6 separate regions of the Homo sapiens genome follow, and all the other regions are linked to region 1. Evidence: promoter capture Hi-C in 16 types of primary human blood cells and fetal thymus (Javierre and others, 2016). All regions are on one chromosome and are shown on one strand. The core of a region is centred on a gene start or on the middle of the fragment in contact, and the rest is flanking DNA. Distances in the headings are between cores, read along the strand shown. Region 1 holds the start of ZDHHC18 (zDHHC palmitoyltransferase 18). Region 2 holds the start of STX12 (syntaxin 12). Region 3 holds the start of TRIM63 (tripartite motif containing 63). Region 4 holds the start of PDIK1L (PDLIM1 interacting kinase 1 like). Region 5 holds the start of FAM110D (family with sequence similarity 110 member D). Region 6 holds the start of CEP85 (centrosomal protein 85).

The links. Contacts are between HindIII fragments. The CHiCAGO score rates a contact against its expected background, and 5 or more counts as called.
Region 2: a contact is called between the fragment with the promoter of STX12 here and the fragment with the promoter of ZDHHC18 in region 1, in 2 of 17 cell types (monocytes and neutrophils). The highest score is 8.1, in monocytes.
Region 3: the fragment with the promoter of TRIM63 here is called in contact with the fragment with the promoter of ZDHHC18 in region 1 in 3 of 17 cell types (fetal thymus, erythroblasts and megakaryocytes); the score reaches 7.5 in fetal thymus.
Region 4: a contact is called between the fragment with the promoter of PDIK1L here and the fragment with the promoter of ZDHHC18 in region 1, in 5 of 17 cell types (neutrophils, non-activated CD4 T cells, naive CD4 T cells and 2 more). The highest score is 7.9, in neutrophils.
Region 5: the fragment with the promoter of FAM110D here is called in contact with the fragment with the promoter of ZDHHC18 in region 1 in 4 of 17 cell types (fetal thymus, naive B cells, monocytes and 1 more); the score reaches 7.4 in fetal thymus.
Region 6: a contact is called between the fragment with the promoter of CEP85 here and the fragment with the promoter of ZDHHC18 in region 1, in 4 of 17 cell types (total B cells, non-activated CD4 T cells, naive CD8 T cells and 1 more). The highest score is 11.2, in total B cells.

What each region holds. Positions count from the first base shown.
Region 1 is chr1:26,824,980-26,828,362 of GRCh38, forward strand. ZDHHC18 (zDHHC palmitoyltransferase 18) reads left to right here and starts at 1,709. Exons shown (of 8, transcript NM_032283.3): 1 at 1,709-2,160. The coding sequence starts at 1,826. RefSeq lists silencers at 1,491-1,643, 1,607-1,756, 1,767-1,976. The HindIII fragment of the contact is 7,154 bases long and covers 1-3,383 here.
Region 2 is chr1:27,771,717-27,775,099 of GRCh38, forward strand. STX12 (syntaxin 12) reads left to right here and starts at 1,503. Exons shown (of 9, transcript NM_177424.3): 1 at 1,503-1,709. The coding sequence starts at 1,592. RefSeq lists enhancers at 1,223-1,372, 1,339-1,839, 1,493-1,642, 1,840-2,340 and a silencer at 1,753-1,962. The HindIII fragment of the contact is 7,984 bases long and covers 1-1,909 here.
Region 3 is chr1:26,066,061-26,069,443 of GRCh38, forward strand. TRIM63 (tripartite motif containing 63) reads right to left here and starts at 1,570. Exons shown (of 9, transcript NM_032588.4): 1 at 1,276-1,570; 2 at 208-380. The coding sequence starts at 1,434. The HindIII fragment of the contact is 10,936 bases long and covers 1-3,383 here.
Region 4 is chr1:26,109,729-26,113,111 of GRCh38, forward strand. PDIK1L (PDLIM1 interacting kinase 1 like) reads left to right here and starts at 2,096. Exons shown (of 3, transcript NM_152835.5): 1 at 2,096-2,187. RefSeq lists silencers at 1,110-1,389, 1,450-2,089 and enhancers at 2,140-2,369, 2,750-2,859. The HindIII fragment of the contact is 5,419 bases long and covers 180-3,383 here.
Region 5 is chr1:26,157,273-26,160,655 of GRCh38, forward strand. FAM110D (family with sequence similarity 110 member D) reads left to right here and starts at 1,807. Exons shown (of 2, transcript NM_024869.3): 1 at 1,807-1,854. RefSeq lists an enhancer at 1-81. The HindIII fragment of the contact is 9,541 bases long and covers 1-3,383 here.
Region 6 is chr1:26,232,678-26,236,060 of GRCh38, forward strand. CEP85 (centrosomal protein 85) reads left to right here and starts at 1,523. Exons shown (of 14, transcript NM_001319944.2): 1 at 1,523-1,633. RefSeq lists enhancers at 1,722-1,871, 2,192-2,251, 2,342-2,391. The HindIII fragment of the contact is 7,371 bases long and covers 1-2,361 here.

The DNA of each region.
Region 1 (3,383 bases), core at 459-2,958:
TCATATTGAGAGCCTTTGGCACCAAAGGCACGGCTGAGCAGCCTTTGGCATATATATCAATTATTGATCCTTAAGGTCACTGTTGTCGGCTTCCTACTCCTCCCCATTGTATATTTTTACTTCCTTTTTTACTTTCTCCTAGTCTCCAGTTCTTTTTTTCCTTGCACTTTTCCTTAGGTTTTACAGTAACCACAGTGTGACAGACATACCCTAAGCTGACCCCCAATGATTCCTGCCTCCTGGTATTTACGCCTTGTGTGATTCCCTTTTCTTGAGTGCAGATGGCTCCTGTGCTTTGCTTTTAACCATAGGAGATGGCAATGATGATGGGATGCCACTCTGTCACATATATAGTAAGTTATATAAAACTCTATCATCATAGTCTGGAGCTAGAGACCCTCATTGTCAGTTTCAAGAAACTAAGTGGCTATGTAGGAGAAACCTGCATGGCAAGGAAATGTGATAATCTCTAGGAACTGCAGGTGGCTTTTGGATCCTGAGAGAGGCCTCCAGCAGACACCCAGCAAAAATCCCAGGCCCTCCTCAGTTATACAGTCACCCAGCAAAAATCCCAGGCCCTCTTCAGTTAAACAGTCGCAAGGAAGTTAATTCTGCCAATAACCCAAATGGGCTTGCAAGTGGATTCTTCCCTGGCTGAGTCTCCAGATGAGAATGCAGCCTGATTGCAGCCTTGTGAGACTAAGCAGAGGACCCAGCTAAGCTGTTCTCTGGCTCCTGACCTGGAACCTGTTAGATAACGTTTGTTTTTTGTTTTTTTTGAGACGGAGTCTTGCTCTGTCACCAGGCCGGGTGCAATGGCACAATCTCGGCTCACTGCAACCTCCACCTCCTGGGTTCAAGCAATTCTCCTGCCTCAGCCTCCCGAGTAGCTGGGACTATAGATGCCGTGCCACCATGCCCAGCTAATTTTTTATTTTTAGTAGAGACGGGGTTTCACCATATTGGCCAGGATGGTCTCTCTCGACCTTGTGATCCACCCACCTCGGCCTCCCAAAGTGCTGGGATTACAGGCGTGAGACACCGCGCCCGGCCGATAATGTTTGTTTTAAGCCTTAAATTTGTGGTAACTTGTTACACAGCAGTAGAAAATGAATACTCCCAGAATTCCTGAAAAAACACTGGGGCCCTCAGGCATGACCCCTCTACATTATGTGCTACCTAGGAAAATCTGGGCCTGGGCCCAGGACACAGAACTTGGTGAACGAGGCCAGAGGGTGTGCCACACACCTCCAGTGGGCACTCTGGACTTCAAGGTAGAAGAGGTCCTGGCTTTCAAAGCAAATCGTGTGCCCCACCTCCCCGCGCCTGCCTGCCTCTGCAAATGCCTGTCAGTTCGACCCTCAGAGATGGGCGAAGCCTGGGGAATTACAGACTGCCAGAAGTAGATCACGAAGTCCACCACCTGAATCTCGGCGTTTGGCACCGTGCCTGGTACACAGTGGACGCCCAACAAACGGCTTGCTTGCAGAACAGAAAGAGCCCTCGAGTGCGCGTCTGCTGGCCCCCTCTTTGTGCAGAAGGGAAAAGGGAGACTGGGAGGGCCGGGGACCTGCGGGGCCCCGCCGCGGGTCAGAGCTGGGCCTCCGGCCAAGCGCCATCCCGGGCCCAGGCGGAGGGGGCGCTGCGGCGGGAGGCCGCGGCGGGCGGTGGCGGCGGGCCGGGGGCGGAGCGATGGCGGGGCCGCCCCAGTGAGTGAGCGAGCGAGCGCCGCGCGCGCCGCCGCTGCCACCTCCGCTGCTCGGCCCGGTCCCGGAGTGGCCCGGCCGGCCCGCGGGGCGCGGAGCCGAGGCCCGCGGCTGGCTGCATGAAGGACTGCGAGTACCAGCAGATCAGCCCCGGGGCCGCCCCGCTGCCCGCCTCCCCGGGGGCGCGCCGTCCCGGCCCCGCCGCGTCCCCGACTCCGGGCCCCGGGCCCGCGCCGCCCGCCGCCCCCGCCCCGCCGCGCTGGAGCAGCAGCGGCAGCGGCAGCGGCAGCGGGAGCGGGAGCCTCGGCCGCCGCCCACGGCGCAAGTGGGAGGTGTTCCCGGGTCGCAATCGCTTCTACTGCGGCGGCCGCCTCATGCTGGCCGGCCACGGCGGCGTCTTCGCGCTCACGCTGCTGCTCATCCTCACCACCACCGGCCTCTTCTTCGTCTTTGAGTGAGTTCCGCTGCCTCGGCGCCCCCTCCCAGCCCCCTGCCGCGCACCCCACCTTCCCAATCCCTGCTGGGCACTCCGTGCCTTCCCCTTCGCCTCCCTGGTCCTCATCCTCCCCGCCCCTTTGGGATCCTCCTCGGGCCTCTTGTCTGCCCCCCTGGCCCCTGCGCACCCCCATCCCCGCCAGATGCCCCATCCTCCTTGGTCCATTTGGGTACCCCATCCGCGCTGGTGCCCTCCACCCTCCCAGCCCCTCCATTCTCCCTGACCCCACCCTGGCACCTGTCTGCCTGCCACTGCCAGGAACACCAGCCTCCATGCCCCTCCACGGCCCCCATCCTCGCTGCCCTCTCAGAACCTGCCCCAGGGCTTCTTGAACAGGCCCCTCCTGCTCACCCATCCCTGGACCATCTCTTGCCAACCCCCCAAGTTCTTTCTGACCCTTGTATCCCTTCCTGACCACTTCTAGATCTTGTGTGTCCTTTGGCTGTGCACACCCACCATAAACATCCTAGTCATCCTCGCTGCCCTCTCCGGGTCCCTCCAGGGTCCCCTCCTTTTCTCTAGTCTCAGACACCAACCCCGCTTTTGCTTCCCCTCAGCCACGCACACCCTAGGCCCCAAGGCATCTTTTCTCAAAATCTTTGGGCCTCTCGGGCCCCCTTTCCTTCTCCAGAACCTTCCTTAGGTTCTCCAGAGCTTCCTGTCCTTCCCTCAGATCCCGCCCGCCTCCACCCAGCCGGCTCCCAGGCCCCTGGCCCCCCTGCTGACCACCTGGCTTTCTTTCCCTGCTCAACATTCTGGAACGTCCCTCTGGCCTGTTCCACATCAGCAACAGCTGCGGTGCCTTGTTGTTTTTCAGGAAAGACTTCGGAGTGCTTTCGTGTGACAGGTCATATTTGCCCCCCTAGGTTTTTGTCCTCTTCATATCCCCCGGTGACCCAGGATTGGCCCACACATAATCTCCATTTTATGGATGGAGGGTCATATATTTGTATTAGAAGTTTTCCACCCACCTCTGAGCCACCTGCACTGTGATTCCTTGCACACACACTCACACGCCCACCCACCCACCCTTGCTTCATAAGCCCTGCTGTCCCCTCCCAACTCCCCATCCTTTGTGGTTGTTCCTCTTAATTATACAGTGTAGTTAAGAACTCTAACAGACCTGGTTCAAATCCCAGCTCCACCACCCACTAATTGCGTGACCTCAGGGCAGTCACTTC
Region 2 (3,383 bases), core at 253-2,752, 950 kb after region 1:
ATCCGTCTCTTTCTAGAGACAGGGAAAAAAAATGCTCTCATAAATTCTCCAACGAAAAATAGAGATAGTCACCCTTAAAAAATCCTAAGGCTGGTGGGTGGATTGCTTGAGCCCAGGAGTTTGAGACCAGCCTGGACAACATGGCCAAACCCCAACACTACAAAAAATATAAAAATTAGCTGGGCGTGGTGGCGCACGCCTGTAATCCTAGCTACTCAGAGGTTAGGTGGTAGGACCTCCTGAGCCCAGGAGAAGGAGGATGCAGTGAGCAGAGATCGCGCCACTGCACTCCAACCTGCGTGACAGAGCGGGACCCTGTCTCAAAAAAAATAAAATAAAGAAAAAATCCTAAGGCCATATACAGGCTCATTCACTTTGGGTCTCCTTTCATCCAGGCAAGCAGCTTTCTGTCTTTGCATTTTCCAAAGACTACAAAGCAGGCTGGGGTGGGGTGGGGTGGGGTGTAGAACACAGGAAACGCAGCCAGTTCCCCTTCACTTCTCACTATCTTGATCTCCTCCCAAACCAAAATCCTATGTCTTTCCTTTTAACATAGGCTTACAAAAATGCAGTTTTCTGTGGGAACATTGAGGTCATGCATTCCAAATTACTTAAGGGAACGATTTTTAAATTTTAGGAATCTAGTTCTCCAAGATATCCCGGCTTGGGATATAGATGAACGAGCTATTTGGGAGAGATTTAGACGAGAATGAATTTTAGAGAAGTAGCGAGGTGAGGAGAGAGTCAGCTTAGCGTTTGGGTTTTGCAGTCAAATTTCAGCAAGGCGAACTAACCTCGCTGGTCTTAATTTTCTCATCGGTAAGAGGGAAAATAATAATGCTTACTTTGATGAATTACTTTACTTCAACATTTAAAAAACCGACTCTCCGTTATCTATTCTAATGATAAAAATATAGATAGAGCATCGTCCCCTGCTGTGAAAAATCTTATGAACAAGTGAATTGCGGTGAGGATTCACATAGTATGTGCTCAATAAACATTATTTTATTGTTTAGATTAGAAGAGGGGTGGAGGGAGAAATGAAAGTGGTTTGGAAACCCCAAACACTACCAAAGCCCTGGGGATGGAAGTAGAGAGGAATTTCGGGTTACGATTTGGTTCCGGGTCTGAGTTTCAACGTTGAATTCTCCCATATTTGGGCCTGAATTCTCAGAACAGAATAGGATGTAAGGGCTGAGATCATCTGGTACAGTTTTATGCAAATCGAAAATTCTTGCCTCTTGTCACTGTGCCCTGGCGAGAAACAACACCTCCACCCAAGCTCATCCAATCTCAGCCCCAACTAGGTGACGTCATCTCCCCGCCCTGCATCCCCAAGCCTCGGGGAGTCCTGTCTCTAAGCTACAGTCCCAGCTCCAGTCCCAGCTCCAGTCCCAGCGGCGCCTGCGCACTTTGGACCGGGGCGGGGAGGACGCGTGCGCGCCGCGTGAGGGCGGGGCTAGTGCGCACGCAGCCTTAGCTCCTTCCCCGCCCTTGCTCTTCCCAGTTTCTCCGTCAGCCTGCGGGTCCCGGCTGGCGGCTGCTTCCGGTAGGAGAGCGGTGTAGAGCGAGCAGGTCTCAGCTCCTCGTCATGTCATACGGTCCCTTAGACATGTACCGGAACCCGGGGCCCTCGGGGCCCCAGCTCCGGGACTTCAGCAGCATCATCCAGACGTGCAGCGGCAACATCCAGCGGATCAGCCAAGCCAGTGAGCCGGGGTACCGAGCTGGGGGGCGGGAGCTGTCCCGGGGACAGGCCTGGGTGAGGCTGCCGGGACGCAGGGCCCGGCTGGGGCTACGGCCGAGGCCACACCTGGGGCTGTCTCGGGCTGTCCACCCTGGGGGCGGTGGGCTGCCATCCCCCAATCTGTCAGGCCCGGGTTGCCCGAGGGTCCCCGGCCCCAGCTGAAGCTTGAGCTGCTTCTCTGGAGTTCTGCCCCCACGGTGCTGGGACCAAAACAGCCGACTTGACAGCCCGAGGGTGGGAAGGGGAGTGTGTGTCACCTCGAGAGCTGTGAGTGCGTTGACTTGGCGCAGTGGTCAGCCGAGTTTCTCCTGTCACCCACCTTCCTCCCCACCCACCTCGCTTTCCTCTTAGACCAGTTTGGATGGGGTTGTTTACTGATTTAGCCTTTAGGTTTACATTCTGCTCAGCCCCTGGCTCCTCGGAAATCAGCAACTTTCAATTAAGGGAAGTGGAGAGTGCATGTGTTTGGGTGACTTCATACACAGTTCTTCCTGTAATGAATTCGGAAATCAGACACAATGACTGGTATTTGAAAGGTGGGATGACTTCATTTTAATAAAGAGAATTCACCAACAGCATTTCAATTTACATTATTTTGTCTTTTGTAACAAATAATTGGGGTGTATTTTTGGATTTCAGGCAGATGAGGCTTTTGTTTTCCTTCCCTACTTAGCTGCTCTTGAACAAATCTGGTACACAGGGAAGCTAAGACACTTAGCCACAACCACATAGCAAGTAAGGCATGGTAGAGTTGTTGGTGGAATTCAGAATGCTATTGCTTGTCTTAAAACTCCCTCCTCCCCATTAGGGTCTGAGTGAAACTGTAGCTGAATGAGTCAAATACAGGGTGTTTCTTGTGCTTGAAAATCATCTTGGAGCCTTATAAACAGGAGATCAGCAGCAGCTTTACTTGGAAAGAATGGTGGTCATCATCCTTGTTGTTTATTATTGTTTTGTGAGCTTGGCGTACTCTGTTAATAGGTAGAACTAGTTAGTCCTGAATTACAATTATATTCTATATTTTAAAGAGTGTCACTTTGCTTTCGTTTTTAAACTTTTAAAAATTTTTCTTTTTTGTAGAGATGAAGTCTTGCTATGTTGGCCAGGCTGGTCTCAAACCCCTGGGCACAAGCACTTCTCCCACTTTAGCCTCCCAAAGTGCTGGGATTACAGGCGTGAGCCACTGTGCCTAGCCTAATTTTTTTGATTTAAAATATTTTTAATTTATTTTTTCGAGACAGAGTCTACTTCTGTCACCCAGGCAGAATGCAGTGATCTGAGTGAAGTGGTACAATCCTAGCTCACTATAACCTTGAATTCCTGATCAGCTTGCTGAGTAGCAAGGACTACAAGGATGCATCTACCGTGCCAGGCTAATTTTTAAATTTTTTGTAGGGATGGGGTCTCACTATGTTGCCCAGGCTCACTTTGCTTTTAAATCTAAATGTATATTGTAGAATTTGAGAAGTAGAAAGTTTCTGATCAAAAGGGATTGAGACTCTGGAAGTGAAAGGAAGAATATGTGGCCTGTTAAAATCCAGAAGTAAAAAAAATTAATATGACCACTGGTTAGAAAGTATAGTACTGTTTGTTCCAGTTTCCTTTTGTGAAGGAGCTGTAATACAGGTTAGATCAG
Region 3 (3,383 bases), core at 320-2,819, 760 kb before region 1:
TGTCTGGGCCCCTTCCCATCCGCTGAGCAATCCTGAGAGCTGGGTTGGGGTGTATGGGTCTCCAGTCCTGTCTCTGAATGGCTTGTGTAGCTAGTCCAGCTAGAGGCCTGGATCCTGAGCAGATGAAGGAGGGGGAAGGAGCGTGGGGGATCTAGGCACAGCATGGCTGGGAAGGAGGGCGGGCCCCCAGCAGGCACGAGAACCGACCTGGAGCACTCCTGTTTGTAGATGTCGATGATGTTCTCCACCAGCAGGTTCCTCTGCAGGCCGTACACTCCGTGACGATCCATGATCACCTCGTGGCGGCAGGTGGGGCAGCGGAAACGGCCTCCAGACATGGACACTGAGCTGCCCCGGCTGGTCCAGTAGGGATTTGCAGCCTGCAGGTGGCAAAGGTCAAGGTGAGGCCTGGGCTCCCTACTTAGCCCTTCTCTTTTCTAATCTCCTCTTATCCTTTCCTCTGCCTATCCGAACCACCCCCGTCAAACCTAACAACCTGGAGCTCTGCAGACTGTGATGAGAACCAGTCCTCACACACAGAGCACCTGAGAAGCAGCTAAGCAATCGTCAGGATGGGGAGGCAGGAGACCTGGGTTCAAGTCATGTTTATTCTCTGAGTGATTTTGGGCAAGCAACCTTATCTGTGTAGGCCTCAGTTTGCCCACTTATGAAATAGGTATTACAATGAGAGCAAGCTCCTAAGGCTGCTACTTTAAAGATAATATCGTGAAAGAACATTTTGTAAAGTGTCCATGGGGAACCTCGCATCCTGCCTCCCAGCCAGGACATCTACCCCCTTCCTTTCTCGGGGAGTTGGAGCCCCTTCTGCCCCCATATCATAGGGAACAGCCTCAAAAGGGAAGATGCCTCTACTGCCCACTGCCTCCCTGACACCCTCCTCCCAAAGCTCTGGGCCTCTTGCCACCAGGACCTGGCTCCAGCCCCAGGGGTCTGGTTTCTCTCTCCTGTCCCTGCCTACCCCGCTTATCACTTGAGGCATTTGACTCTTGATTGGAGAGTCAACAGCAGTGCTCAGGGCAGGGGTGGGGGAGCTGTGGGCAGGGCAGGGAGGGGAAACTTGTGTTATGGAGAAGAACCGCAGCAGCCAGAGCCGCCTCCCAGCCCCCTCTCAGCCCTGTCCAGAGGCCTCTGCAGGGGTTCACTTCCAAGGGGAAAGAGGCTGTCCAGGTTGGAAGTCTAAGGGAGAAGGGTTTCATCACAGGGAAGCCAAGTAGCCACCTGGGGACCCCAAATGAAGCTGCACCCGGCACTTACCTGGAAGATGTCATTGGCACACTTCCGGCACAGGTTGTGCTGGCACGGCAAGATGACCACTGGCTTGGTAAACATCTCCAGGCAGATAGGGCAGATCAGCTGCTTCTCCAAGTTCTCCATGGGATTCCCATCCTGGATCAGGCTCGACTTATAATCCATTCTGTGGGAAGGAATGAGAGCCACGCCTAGCTGCCTCCTCTACTAACTTTGCTCTAAGTAGACCTGGGGGTCTTGCCTTTGTCACAAAACACCGGGTCGGATCCTGTTGGCTTCCTTCTCCTGGTGCCCGAATTCTGTCTTGGTCTGAGGCCCCTCTGATATTTATAGCTAGATCTTGGTCACATGAGCCCCAGGAGGGGACCAGCTGAGCATTCCGATGCCAAGCGGCTGGTGGGGCTTGAGTTTCCTCCAGGCCTGAAAGACTGGCCCTCTCAAATCACATGCAGGGATGAGCAATCACTATTCTGCTGGGACGGGGGTCATAAACAAGAACAGCCTGTTCAGAGGCAGGCTTAGGGCAAGACTGGGTACCCAGAGCTTCCTCCAGAAATTGGTCTCCCCCCGGCACCAGGCTAGTGGGTCAGGGATGGGACCCAGCAAGTGAGCCACGGGGATTCAAGGGGTTAATAGCCAATGCTATGATGAAAATGTTCGATGAATGAATTTTATTCATTCATCAGACATTTTTCTGAGTACTAGTATATACATCAGGCAACTAGTATACATCACAACGTGACAGATGGATGAGTGATCTGTTTCCCTGCCCCGAGAAACTCACAGCCCAGGAAGGGAGATAGAAAGGATTGTGCAGTGGCACGATCTCTGCTCACTGCAACCTCCACCTCCCAGGTTGAAGGGAGTCTCCTCCTTCAGCCTCCCAACCTCAACCCCCTCCCAGCCCCACGCAACCCCTCACTGACCTAAATCAATTCCATCCCCTCCTCTGGAGTCCTGGGCAGCTCCTAGATGGAAGGGTCGGGCAGCCCCTCTCTCTGAGCCCATCCCTCTGCCTCAGACTTCAGCACAGCATTTTGCTGGAGATGATGGAGACCCCCACTCCAACCAGCCCATCCTCCATCCCTCGGCCACTTATTTCACTTAGTGCTGAAAAGCCTCCTTTGAAACACAGTCCAGTCCCCTCATCTTACAGATTTTGAAATGGGACTAGAGAAGAAAAGGATTATATTCAAAGTCAGTTGGAAAGTAAGTGGCAGCCGGGCGTGGTGTCTCACACCTGTAATCCCAGCACTTTGGAAGGCTGAGGCAGGTGGATCACTTGAGGTCAGGAGTTCGAGACTAGCCTGGCCAACATGGTAAAACCCTGTCTCTACTAAAAACACAAAACTTAGCTGGGTGTGGTGGTACGCGCCTGTAATCCCAGCTACTCAGGAGGCTGAAGCAGGAGAATCACTTGAACCCAGGAGGTGGAGGTTGCAGTGAGCTGAGATCGCGCCACTGCACTCCAGCCTGGGTGACAAGAGTGAAACGCCATCTCCAAACAAAACAAAACAAAACAAAAAAGAAAGAAAATAAGTGGCAAAGACAGAAATTTTATTCATTCATCAGACATTTTTCTGAGTACTAGTATACATCAGGTAACTAGTATACATCACAACGTGACAGATGGATGAGTGATCTGTTTCCCTGCCCCAAGAAACTCACAGCCCAGGAAGGGAGATAGAAAGGAAAAACCCAGAGGGCACAGTGACTCACGCCTGTAAACCCAGCACTTTAGGAGGTCGAGGTGGGCAGACCACGAGGTCAGGAGATGGAGACCATCCTGGCCAACATGGTGAAACCCTGTCTCTACTAAAAATACAAAAATTAGCTGGGTATGATGGCAGGTGCCTATAATCCCAGCTACTCAGTAGGCTGAGGCAGGAGAATCGTTTGAACCCAGGAAGAGGAGGTTGCGGTGAGTCGAGATTGCACCACCGCACTCCAGCCCGGTGATAGAGTGAGACTCTGTCTCCAAAAAAAAAAAAAAAAGAAAAAGAAAAAAGAAAGAAAGAAAGGGAAACCCCTCATGCGGTGCCACAAAGCCCTGCCTGGACACTTAGAAGGCGTCCCTCAGCTCGCTGCACACATTTTAACTTTTCTCCATGTAT
Region 4 (3,383 bases), core at 846-3,345, 710 kb before region 1:
GTATGAGAATGCTAGCCTTAGGTGTATTTTGATACCATATCAGATTGAGGAGGCTGCAGAGATGAATCACAGACAAGGTTCCTGCCCCTAGGAATTCTCAGTCCTCCAGGAGGCCTAAAGGCTAAAAAAAATGACATAATAAGCAGGAGGCAGATTTACCCTGAAACTAATGAATCTTAAGCTTCAGAGTCCTTTACTTATAGGGACCCTTTCCAGTGTTCCAGATATGTGTTCACAGGGCCATTTTATAACATTTTTCCTCAGGAGGACACCCCAAATTATTTAAGTTTCAGGTCCCACAAGATCTAAACCCCCCTCACAGACTTAACAGTGAGCCTAAACTGGGGGCGAGAGTGGATTTCAAATCTCATCTGCAGCTGACTTAAGAGCAAGGGTTCCTATGATATTTAATGACTGAGACAAAATGAAAACGCTACTTTGATCGAGAGAGAGGTCCCTCCCCTGATTGGGATCAATAACCCACACAGGTAGTTAGCTGTCTACGCAGAGCCTTCTATATTTTCCCTCTACTTTTGAGGGCGGGAAATAAGTCTTGGCTGACACCAGTGTTTCCAGCAAACAGCTGAAGACTTGACACTTGGATGGCACTCAGGACAAAAATCTGAACAGATTACAGAACCGTTGTTGTTTTTTTTTTTTAAGGGGAGGGTGTGTTACACCAGGAATGGGTATTCAAGGTAGACACATCCCAAAACAGACACTTCAGTGAGAAGAGGCAGAGGTGTTTCCTCACCTGTAAAAACAGGATAATAAAACCTACTCTTGTGGGGTTTGGTTAGGATTAAGCAAGATCATTTATATAAAGACCTAACCCAGTGCCAGACTCTCGGGAGAAGGGGCATAAAGGACAGAAAATAAAATGAGTTGATCTTTGAGCACAGCGACAGGGATTTTTTGTACATCGTGCCTTACAGAGCGAGCGCTGGGAGGAGGAATCATCACCCTGCTGAGAAGTAATGGGTGCAGAATAAATCGAGTAAGAAGGAATGGACTTTTCTGGCGGATGCTTACTGATCTAACAACTGGATGACTGAGGAATGCGGTCCTAAGTGACCCCGGGCTGGCTGTGGGGCCAACAGCGTGCGGGATCTGACTAACAGCGTGTGGCAGCCGAGCGACTGCAGCAGCGGCGGGGACCCCATTGACTGTCCAGCCCCGAGAGCGGCAGGAGCGCGGTGGATCCTGGCTCGGACCAAGGCCTCTCCCCTGCGCCGACTGCAGACCAACCCTCCACCAGGAGCCTCGCGGGGGGGCGCCGTGGGCACCGCAGCCAGGTGCAGGCGCCTCCGCGCCCTCACTCCCCACGCCGAGGAGGTGGCCCTGGCTCCCTGCGGCCGCAGCCGGGGAACAATGAGGCGCCGGCCTCTTTAAGGGAGATACCACCGCGCCGGCGGGGCAGGGGACGGCATCCTCCCAGATGATCGCACCCAGCCCCGCGCCGCCGCCGCCGCCGCCGTCTCCGCAACTGCACCGCCCGCAAACATGGCTCAGTGACTCGGAGAAAAGCTGCAGTCTCCCTCCCGGCGGGGCGGACGCCAGGCCTCCTTGGTCGGGCCGCACCTCCCCGCAGGCCCGCCAAAGAGCACCGCGCCCCGCAGGCACCCGAGACCCGCGCGGAAGATGCACCGGGCGTTCCACCCCAGCGAGCCCCGCACCCCAGCCCGCAGCTCGGTAGGTCGGAAGGGGGCGGGTAGAGGGAGGGGAGGCCGCGGCCGGGCGCGCGCAGCCCCAGGCCCGGACCTGCCGCTGCAGACGGTCCCCGGGGCCGCGGGCCCTGAGCGCCCGCTGCGGCTGGAGGGTGGCCGAGCCCCGGCGTGGCGTGGCCTCGCGGTTCCCGAGCCCGGCCACCCCTGCGGGGAGCAGCACCAGTGGTGCGCTCCGGAGCGCGCACACCTCCGACGACTCCCGGCTCTGCAAATCCTCGAGAGAGGGAGGAGGCGAGCGGAGCGCCGGCCGCGCGCCTCGTCGGTGGCGCGGAACGTCCCGGCTCGCGCTACGGAAAGCCGGAGGGGGGCGGGGCCGTCGGCGTAAGGGGGTGTGTCCGCGCGCACCACGGGGGCGCGCGCCGGCTGCTGACTGGAGGCGGCGGCAGCGGAGGCGCGAGCTGCCCGATAATGGCGGCCTGCAGAGCCCATGAGAGGGAGAAGCGGCAGCGTCTACCCTGAGGTAAATCTGGCCTTTCGGCGTGGCGGAGAGGTCTTGCTGCAGAGCCGATGGCCCTGCATGTGCCTCCCTCCCTGGGAGGCTTGTCACAGACGTGTCAGCGGAGTCATCCTGGGGAAGGCCCTGCGCTCCTCAGGCCACCGACCCCAGTCGCGGCCTCCTCTCATACCGGGGCCACCTCCCCCCGGCCCTCAGCCCCCAGCCCCGAGGAGTTGAGGCAACTGCAGGGCTGGCTCCTCAGAGCGAAGGGGCTCAGGAGGCTCCCCTCCGGGCTTCATCTGAGCACGGCCGAGGAGGGGGAGGGCCTGACACTTGGCCAATGAGCGCGGCCTGAGCCGCCGCGTCGGGCAACACCTCTGGCCGCGACTGGCCCTTCCCGGGCGCCGGCAGGTGTCTGGCCTGGCCGGCTCGCGTCCCAGCGCCTGGTTAGAGCAGCGGGAGCGAGGGCCCGCCACTTTCGGTCGAAAGTCACTTAGGTTCGCATCGGATGCATCATTGGATCCGGGATCCCACGGGTTTCATAAACACCTCTCTCCTCCCTATTCAGGAAGGTGCTCTTCCCCATGGGGACTGTACCAGGCTGGAGAGGACATGGCACTGCTTCAGAGACACGAACCACCTTGAGTGGATGTGATTGGCGATCCCCGTAGAGCAGGAAAGCTCGTCTGCTGTGCAGCCGGCGCAGAGGATTCTGTGGCAGGAAATTAGACACTAGGAAATTCAGTAGCGATTTGAAGGGTGGGTGTCCAGTTAGAGGAAGTGGGACTGAACACAATCTCAGAAGTCATTTCTTTTTATTAAATCTATCCTGTAGACTTAAAGCAGTGGATCCCAACTTCTCAGGCTCTAGGGTCAGTAGCCTTTTGCTTCCCCAGCTGTACAGAATAAATATTGTACAATCTCAGGTTACTTTTCTAGCCCGTGGTCACAATCTACAAATGAGAATTCGTTCATGAAGTTGGTTATAATCTAGAAATTCTTTGGGCGCTGAGGAAGCCCACTTTAGACTTTCTCCATTCAACACATGAGCATTTCTGTGCAGGGCCTTTGCCCTCGCCTTTAAACCGTTCAGTAAGTTGAATTCCCAAGAACTCTGTCAGAGAGCCCCTTGATATGCAGGATCTTTGTTGGCAAAAATGACCTAGAACTAAATAGATATTGTTTACTCCAGCTGTCTTATGACTAGGAAAAAGGAAACA
Region 5 (3,383 bases), core at 557-3,056, 670 kb before region 1:
GTGATCGGCCCGCCTTCACCTCCCAAAGTGCTGGGATTACAGGTGTGAGCCACCTCGCCCGGCCCGAAAGTGCCATTTCATCGGGTTGTTTTGAGGATTAAATATGTTAATCCTTATGTGAGGTACTTAGAATAGCCCCTAACATATATTAATCTCTCAATAAAAGTTAGCTATTGGCCGGGAGAGGTGGCTCACACCTGTAATCCCAGCACTTTGGGAGGCCGAGGCCGGCAGATCGCAAGGTCAGAAGTTCAAGATCAGCCTGAGCAACATGGTAAAACCCTGTCTCTACTAAAAACACAAAATTAGCCAGGCACTTGCCTGTTATCCCAGCTACTCGGGAGGCTGAGGCAGGATAATCGCTTGAACCCAGGAGGCGGAGGTTGCAGTGAGCCAAGATCACGTCACGGCACTCCAGCCTGGGTGACAGAGTTTGGTGAGCTTGGATAAGTCATTTCTCCTCTCTGAGCCTCAGTCTCTTCAGCCGTAAGTGTGAAAAATAATAAAACCTCCCCCAAAGATTGTCATGGGGATTATGACAAAGCAGCTAATGGCATTTTGAAAAGTGCTGTAGCAACAAAATATGGAACTATCACCAACAAAATCCCCCCTTTAGGTAATAAAAACCTTTTACCGGGAGATGGGCCTTGGGTTTTCAGACCCACTACTGACTTGACAGGCAGAGGATGCAGTTCCAAATGTGGATTTGGAGCTGGGCTTTGGGCATCTCTCTCCCCCCTCAGCTCCTGTTTCCTTACTCATTAAGTGGGGGGTCATTCCTGCTGGACGCCTGTCTAGGGTCCTTGTTTGGGGGCGGTCAAAGGAGATCAGAGAGCACAGACGGGAATGTGCTTTGCAAACATGAAAGAGGGCTAGAAAGGAGGAGGAGGGACTTGGGGAAGGTGGCCAGCCAAGGGGGGAAAGGAACCTTTGGCCTGAGCACTGGTCTTAGTCTGGGCTGGAGAGTTTAGTTTGCCTGCTGGGGAGAGGGGAGGTGTCTCCTATGAGGTAGGGTTTCACCTTGAGACATAAGGTGTCAGAGAAGAAACTCTGATGGAAGAAGCTCTAAGAGGCTCCAAGTGTGGGCAGAGAAGGAAGCGGGCCAAAGGACCTGGGCTTGGCCCTGGAATCAGCCCCTCATCACTGTCTTCCCAGGCAATCCCATCTGCCATGAAAGGACCTTGGCAGAGGCAGCTCCAGTGGGCTCCAGGGTCACCTTCATGACAAGACTTGCCGCCACAGGCTCACCTGCACATCTATAGCACCAATGCCCCCACCCTTAGGCTGCAGATTCCTGGTCTCGCCCCCAGGGAAAGCAGGCTTGACACCACCCAGCACCCAGACCAAGACAGGTCTCAGCCTGCTACAGAGGGAAAAAAGCAAGTTGACTAGAACCCTGTTCTGCCTTCCCATTCAGACTGTCAGAGCATCTGCCACAGCCCAGGGAGGGGGCTGATCCCACATACGGAGCCCCCACCCCAGGCCTTTGGAGGAAGCCTGGGGATCAGGAGGCCTTGTTTGGAGTCCTGGCTCTGCCCAAGCTCACAGTGCTTCCACAGCCAATCACCTAACCGGGCTGGGACTGTTTGACCATCTGTAAAATAAAAGGAGCTGGACTTGGTTCACAGGTCTCCACAGCGCAGGACTGTGATCAGGAAAGAGTTAATGGAGGCCAGGATCTGCCTCAGGAAGGCGAGGGTTAATTTGGGGGGCGGGGGGTGGAGGCTTTCTCTGCTTTTCCTGTGGAGAGTGAGGTTTGGCTGCCACCAAAGTTACTTCTAGTCCTTGCTGTCCACTCCTGCCCTCAGTCTGGACCTGCCCAAGGACCCCTGCAATTAGGCCTCCCATGCAGAGGTGAGTGTACCCTGAGCCCAGGGCTGGGGTAAGAAGGAACCCAGGGGCCTGAGGGCAGGGAGACTGGTGCCAAACTAGTGAGCCTAAAAGATGGCCCATGCCCAGAGCAGAAGCCTTGGGCAGAGTTGAGACCACAAGTTTCAGGACTGGGAGAAGGCAGGCAAAGGAATGGAGGGCCCGAGGCTGCCTGCCAGGCTTCTAGGGCGGGATGTCTGAGGTCCGGCCTCCAGGCTAGCCCAGAAGGCAGGGAAGAGGCTGTGGATGACAGACTATTTTGGTCCTTGTGATTAGGAACTTTTTATAGTCTCCCTGCTCAGGGCTGGGGAGAAGAGGAGAGGACAGAGGGCACCCATGGGGTCAGACAAGCAGTGCCTTCCTGGGACCTTGGAATCTGACCCACTGCCAAGGAGACTCCCTGGGAGACAGGGAGGGGGACACTGCCAGACTCTCCTTGGTTCCCAGGCCTCAACTACCTATGAGCAGACTGACTACACACTAGATGCTGGGTGCAGGGGTGGGCTGGACCTGGCAGGGTCTCTGCCCCAAGGCCTCTCACAGACTCCTTCCCCACTTCCCTGGCTAATTCTGTTCCTTTGTTGTCCCCAGATCCAAGGTCCCTCAGCCTCCAGGACTCAGGGGGAGTAGGGGAAGATAGGGGTGGGGTCGGGTGTGCAGGGCCATGTGGGTGGCCCATTCTGTTACTGCCAAGAGAACTGTCAGCTCTTGATTTACAACCCCTCCTCGCTCCTTGCCCCAGCAGAAGGGAGGTGGAAAAGGGTCATGAGGTCTTAGGATAAAAAAGGGACAAGGACCCTGGGGGCAAATTTCTGGGAGTGGGAGCGCAGGTTATTAGGAAGAATTAGTGGAAGGAACTTTTTAGTGAGGCAAGGGGCCCATTTCTAACGGAAATTGCTTGGTTTTATAGCAGCGGGAATACACGCAAAATATCAGTGAGTTCTTTTTTTTTTTCTTTTTTTTTTTTTGAGACGGAGTCTCGCTCTGTTGCCCAGGCTGGAGTGCAGTGGTGCGCGATCTCGGCTCACTGCAACCTCCGCCTCCCAGCTTCAAGCGATTCTCCTGCCTCAGCTTCCCAAGTAGCTGGGATTACAGGTGTGCGCCACCCCGCCTGGCTAATTTTTGTATTTTCAGTAGAGATGGGGTTTTGCCATGTTGGCCAGGCTGGTCTGGAACTCCTCACCTAAGGTAATTCACCCACCTCGGCCTCCCAAAGTGCTGGGATTACAGGCATGAGCCATCGCGCCTGGCCTCAGTGGGAAGTTCTGATAGGCAAGTGAGAGATCCAATCTGAACTGCAAGGCAAGAAACCTGGGTGACAAAGCAAGACTCCGTCTAAAGAAAAAAAAAAAAGAAACCTGGGTTCCAGTCCTGGCTCCTAACTCTCAATAGGACCTGAGCAAGCCCCCCTCCTCTCCAAGCCAGTTTCCTCTTCATGAAATGGAAATGCAAAGGTTAAACAAGGTGATGTTTACAGTTTGGCATTCTGCGATCCCCTTGGCAGGGGCAGAGTA
Region 6 (3,383 bases), core at 273-2,772, 590 kb before region 1:
CTTGCCCCAGCTTCCCCAGTAGCTGGGATTACAGGTGCCCACCACCACACCTGGCTAATTTTGTATTTTTAGTAGGGTTTTATCATGTTGGCCACAGGCTGGTCTCAAACTCCCGACCTCAAGTGATCCACCTGCCTGGGCCTCCCAAAGTGCTGGGATTACAGGCGTGAGCCACCGTGCCCGGCCAGGACTAACACTTTCTAGCTTTCTACCCTTCAGTCCATAAATTTATTCATTTAGACACCCTGTCTTAACATTTTTTTTTTTAGCCTTTACGTTAACAGAGGCTTCTGGTCCTAATTTCATATCATACCCAGGTTCATTTTCATTATCCATTAAATCTGCTATTTTATGTCTTCTATATTCTTATCTTAAAATACTAAAAGAGAGGACAAAGGATACAACCTTGGGGCACATCCCTAGGGTCTTTCCTCTAGAGTGACTTTTATTCAGTAATGAACTCACTTTGTCTGGCTCTTAAAGCTAAGAAATTATACAACTTTTTTTTTCCATACAACTTTTTTTTGGAGTGCAGGGGCACGATCTCGGCTCACTGCAACCTCCGGCTCCCTGGTTCAGGCGATTCTGCTGCCTCAGCCTCCCGAGTAGCTGGGATTACAGGTATGCGCCACCACACCCAGCTAATTTTTGTATTTTTAGTAGAGACGGGGTTTCACCATATTGGCCAGGATGGTCTCGATCTCCTGACCTCGTGATCCGCCCTCCTCTGTCTCCCAAAGTGCTGGGATTACAGGCATGAGCCACCGCGCCCGGCCTCCTATACAATTTTTTAGTATCTCTCCCTGCCAAGTCAGGTTTCTAGATACCCAGAATTTCACTATCTGAGATTCATTCCTTTGGCTGATGGTTCTGTTCTCCTTTCAAACAATTTTCCTGTCTGACTCTTCAAGCGCATATTAATGCAAATGGACTTAACAGTTCCTTTTCCTGTGGACCAAGTTTGGGGAGGGAGGCAGGACTGATCCTTTACCCTTCAACCTGAACCTTGGTCACAGGCTGACCACTGCGTCCAACCCAGACCAAGCCTTGACCCTGACTAGTCAGTGACCCAGGCCACACCCTAACTCCTGGTCACAACCTGAACCCCTGCTTCAGGTGTGAGAACTGATAGACCGGCGTTGGAATGGAAGGAGGGTGAGGCAAGCTGAGTGGGATTCTCGTGTCCCCAGCCCCGCCCGCGGGCCGCCAGCTTCCCAACCTGCACAGGCCCAGCAGGGCCCCTCCAGGTCTAGGTGAGCAGAGCTCCACCTACAGGTAAAACGCGGCAAGGGGCAGAGAAGGAGCCAAGTGGCGACGTGGTCATGCGCAGAAAGATCCGTCCGGCTCTCTGAGCAGAGGGTAGCGTGTGGGGGCGGGATACCGACGCGGCTCGGCTGCCGATTGGTCAGAAGAGGATAGAAAGGGGCGGGAAGCCGGCGCGGCTCGACTCCCGATTGGCCAGAGGCGGCAGAACGGGGTGGGGCCAAACGACGCGCGTTCTGTGGCGCGCGGCCTGGCGGGCGTGCAACGGCCGTTAGAGGAGCTGAGGGAGGGAACCACCGCTCACCGCAGACGTGGTGGCTGCAGTCAGTCTTCCCGAGTGAGGGATTTCGCCGCCCGCTTTCAGGCCCGTGTAAGTTTTCCTCCTTCGGGAGCCTCAGTCCTAGTGGCCGACCTTGCCTCTCCTCCCATAGCTCCGGCGAAGCCTCAGACGCTCGCGACCTGCCACCGTGAGGGGCCGGGGAGAGCGAAGCGCATGCGCCTCGGCTCCGAAGCCAGTGCCCCGGCATACGCCCTCTCGCGTCCCATTCCCCTCGCTTCCCCCGTTGCCTTGCTTTGCCGTCCGTGGTTCACCCCACGGCAGTCACTTTACCTGCGTGCCAGGCCCTGTGCCGATAGCCAGGGACACAGCGAGCGGCGCATTCCTTGCCCTTGCGGAGCGCACAGCCCTGGGAGTCGACGTTAAGCGGGGTAATCCCTCGGCGCGCAGTGAGGGTAGAGTGGAGAAATCTTACAAAGAGCGCAAAACAGAAGGCGCGGATCTAGTCGGAGAGGTCAGGGAGCCCTCCCCGAGGAGGAGAAGTTTGAGCCGAGATTGGAAGGCTGTGTAGAGAATTAAGGTTGTGGGACGGAAAGCACTTGGCGGGGCCTTACCCCGGTACTTCTCGGCCGGGGCGATTTTGCTTCCCTGGGGACATTGGTCGATGTCTGGAAACACTTTTGATAGTCACAGCTCCAGGGCTTGCTACTGGCATCTAGTGCGAAGAAGCCAGGGATGCTGTTACACAGCCTACTGTGTGTAGGACGCCCCCAACAACAAAGAAAAATCCCCCAAAATGTCAGTAGGGCGGAAGGTGAGGAAGCTTCCTTCAGCGAGAAGGAGCTGGTGCTTTGGTTGAACTGAAAGTTAGTGTGTTCAGGTTTATTTGTTCAACAGTATATTCAACGCTTACTTCACCTCAGTTAATGAGAGCGATCCTTTACACCAGTACATTCCCAACACGTGGCTCAGAGCCAGGCGCATAGTAGGCACGCAGTAAATTTCGGTTGATGAATTGAACACTGGGATAAGTAGGGGGCGGTGGTGATACAAGGACGATGAAGCTAGCCAGGCCTCATTTATTTGCCCTCAAACCTTGTCTGCTTTATAGTGATCTGGTGGTTTTGTATGTCTCACGACTTTTCTTTGTAAAGGCAACTTCTTGTCAAGGATTTGGCTTCTCTTTCACAAGGTTTAATGAATGATCAAGGCGGTGAAAATAGTGTAATGGTGTGAGATCCTTCGTGTGTCTGTGTCAGCTGTCTGTGTATCCCTTCAAATCCTCTCTTGTCTTGATGTGGTTCTCTTAACAGCTGCCAAGCATGATGTTCCACACTTAGATTGTAATTCTTTTTTTTTTTTTTTTTTTTGTGAGACGGAGTTTTGCTCTTGTTGCCCAGGCTGGAGTGCCGTGGCGCGATGTCGGCTCACCGCAACCTCCGCCTCCCAGGTTCAAGCGATTCTCCTGCCTCAGCCTCCCGAGTAGCTGGGATTACAGGCATGCGCCACCATGCACGGATAATTTTGTATTTTTAGTAGAGACGGCGTTTCTCCATGTTGGTCAGGCTGGTCTCAAACTCCCGACCTCAGGTGATCCGCCCGCCTCGGCCTCCCAAAATGCTGGGATTACAGGCGTGAGCCACCACGCCCGGCCACACTTAGATTGTAATTCTTATAGGGGAAAAATACTTACGGCAGTCAAAATCTAATTCTTGGGTAGCAACTTGAGAAATAAAGCCTAGGTGATGACCAAGGACAAAGTGAAGAAATTTTATGAGCTTTTACTGCTCATATAATTGAGGCTTGCAGCTCTAGCTGTCTGAGGCAGAAACTCCAACTTGTG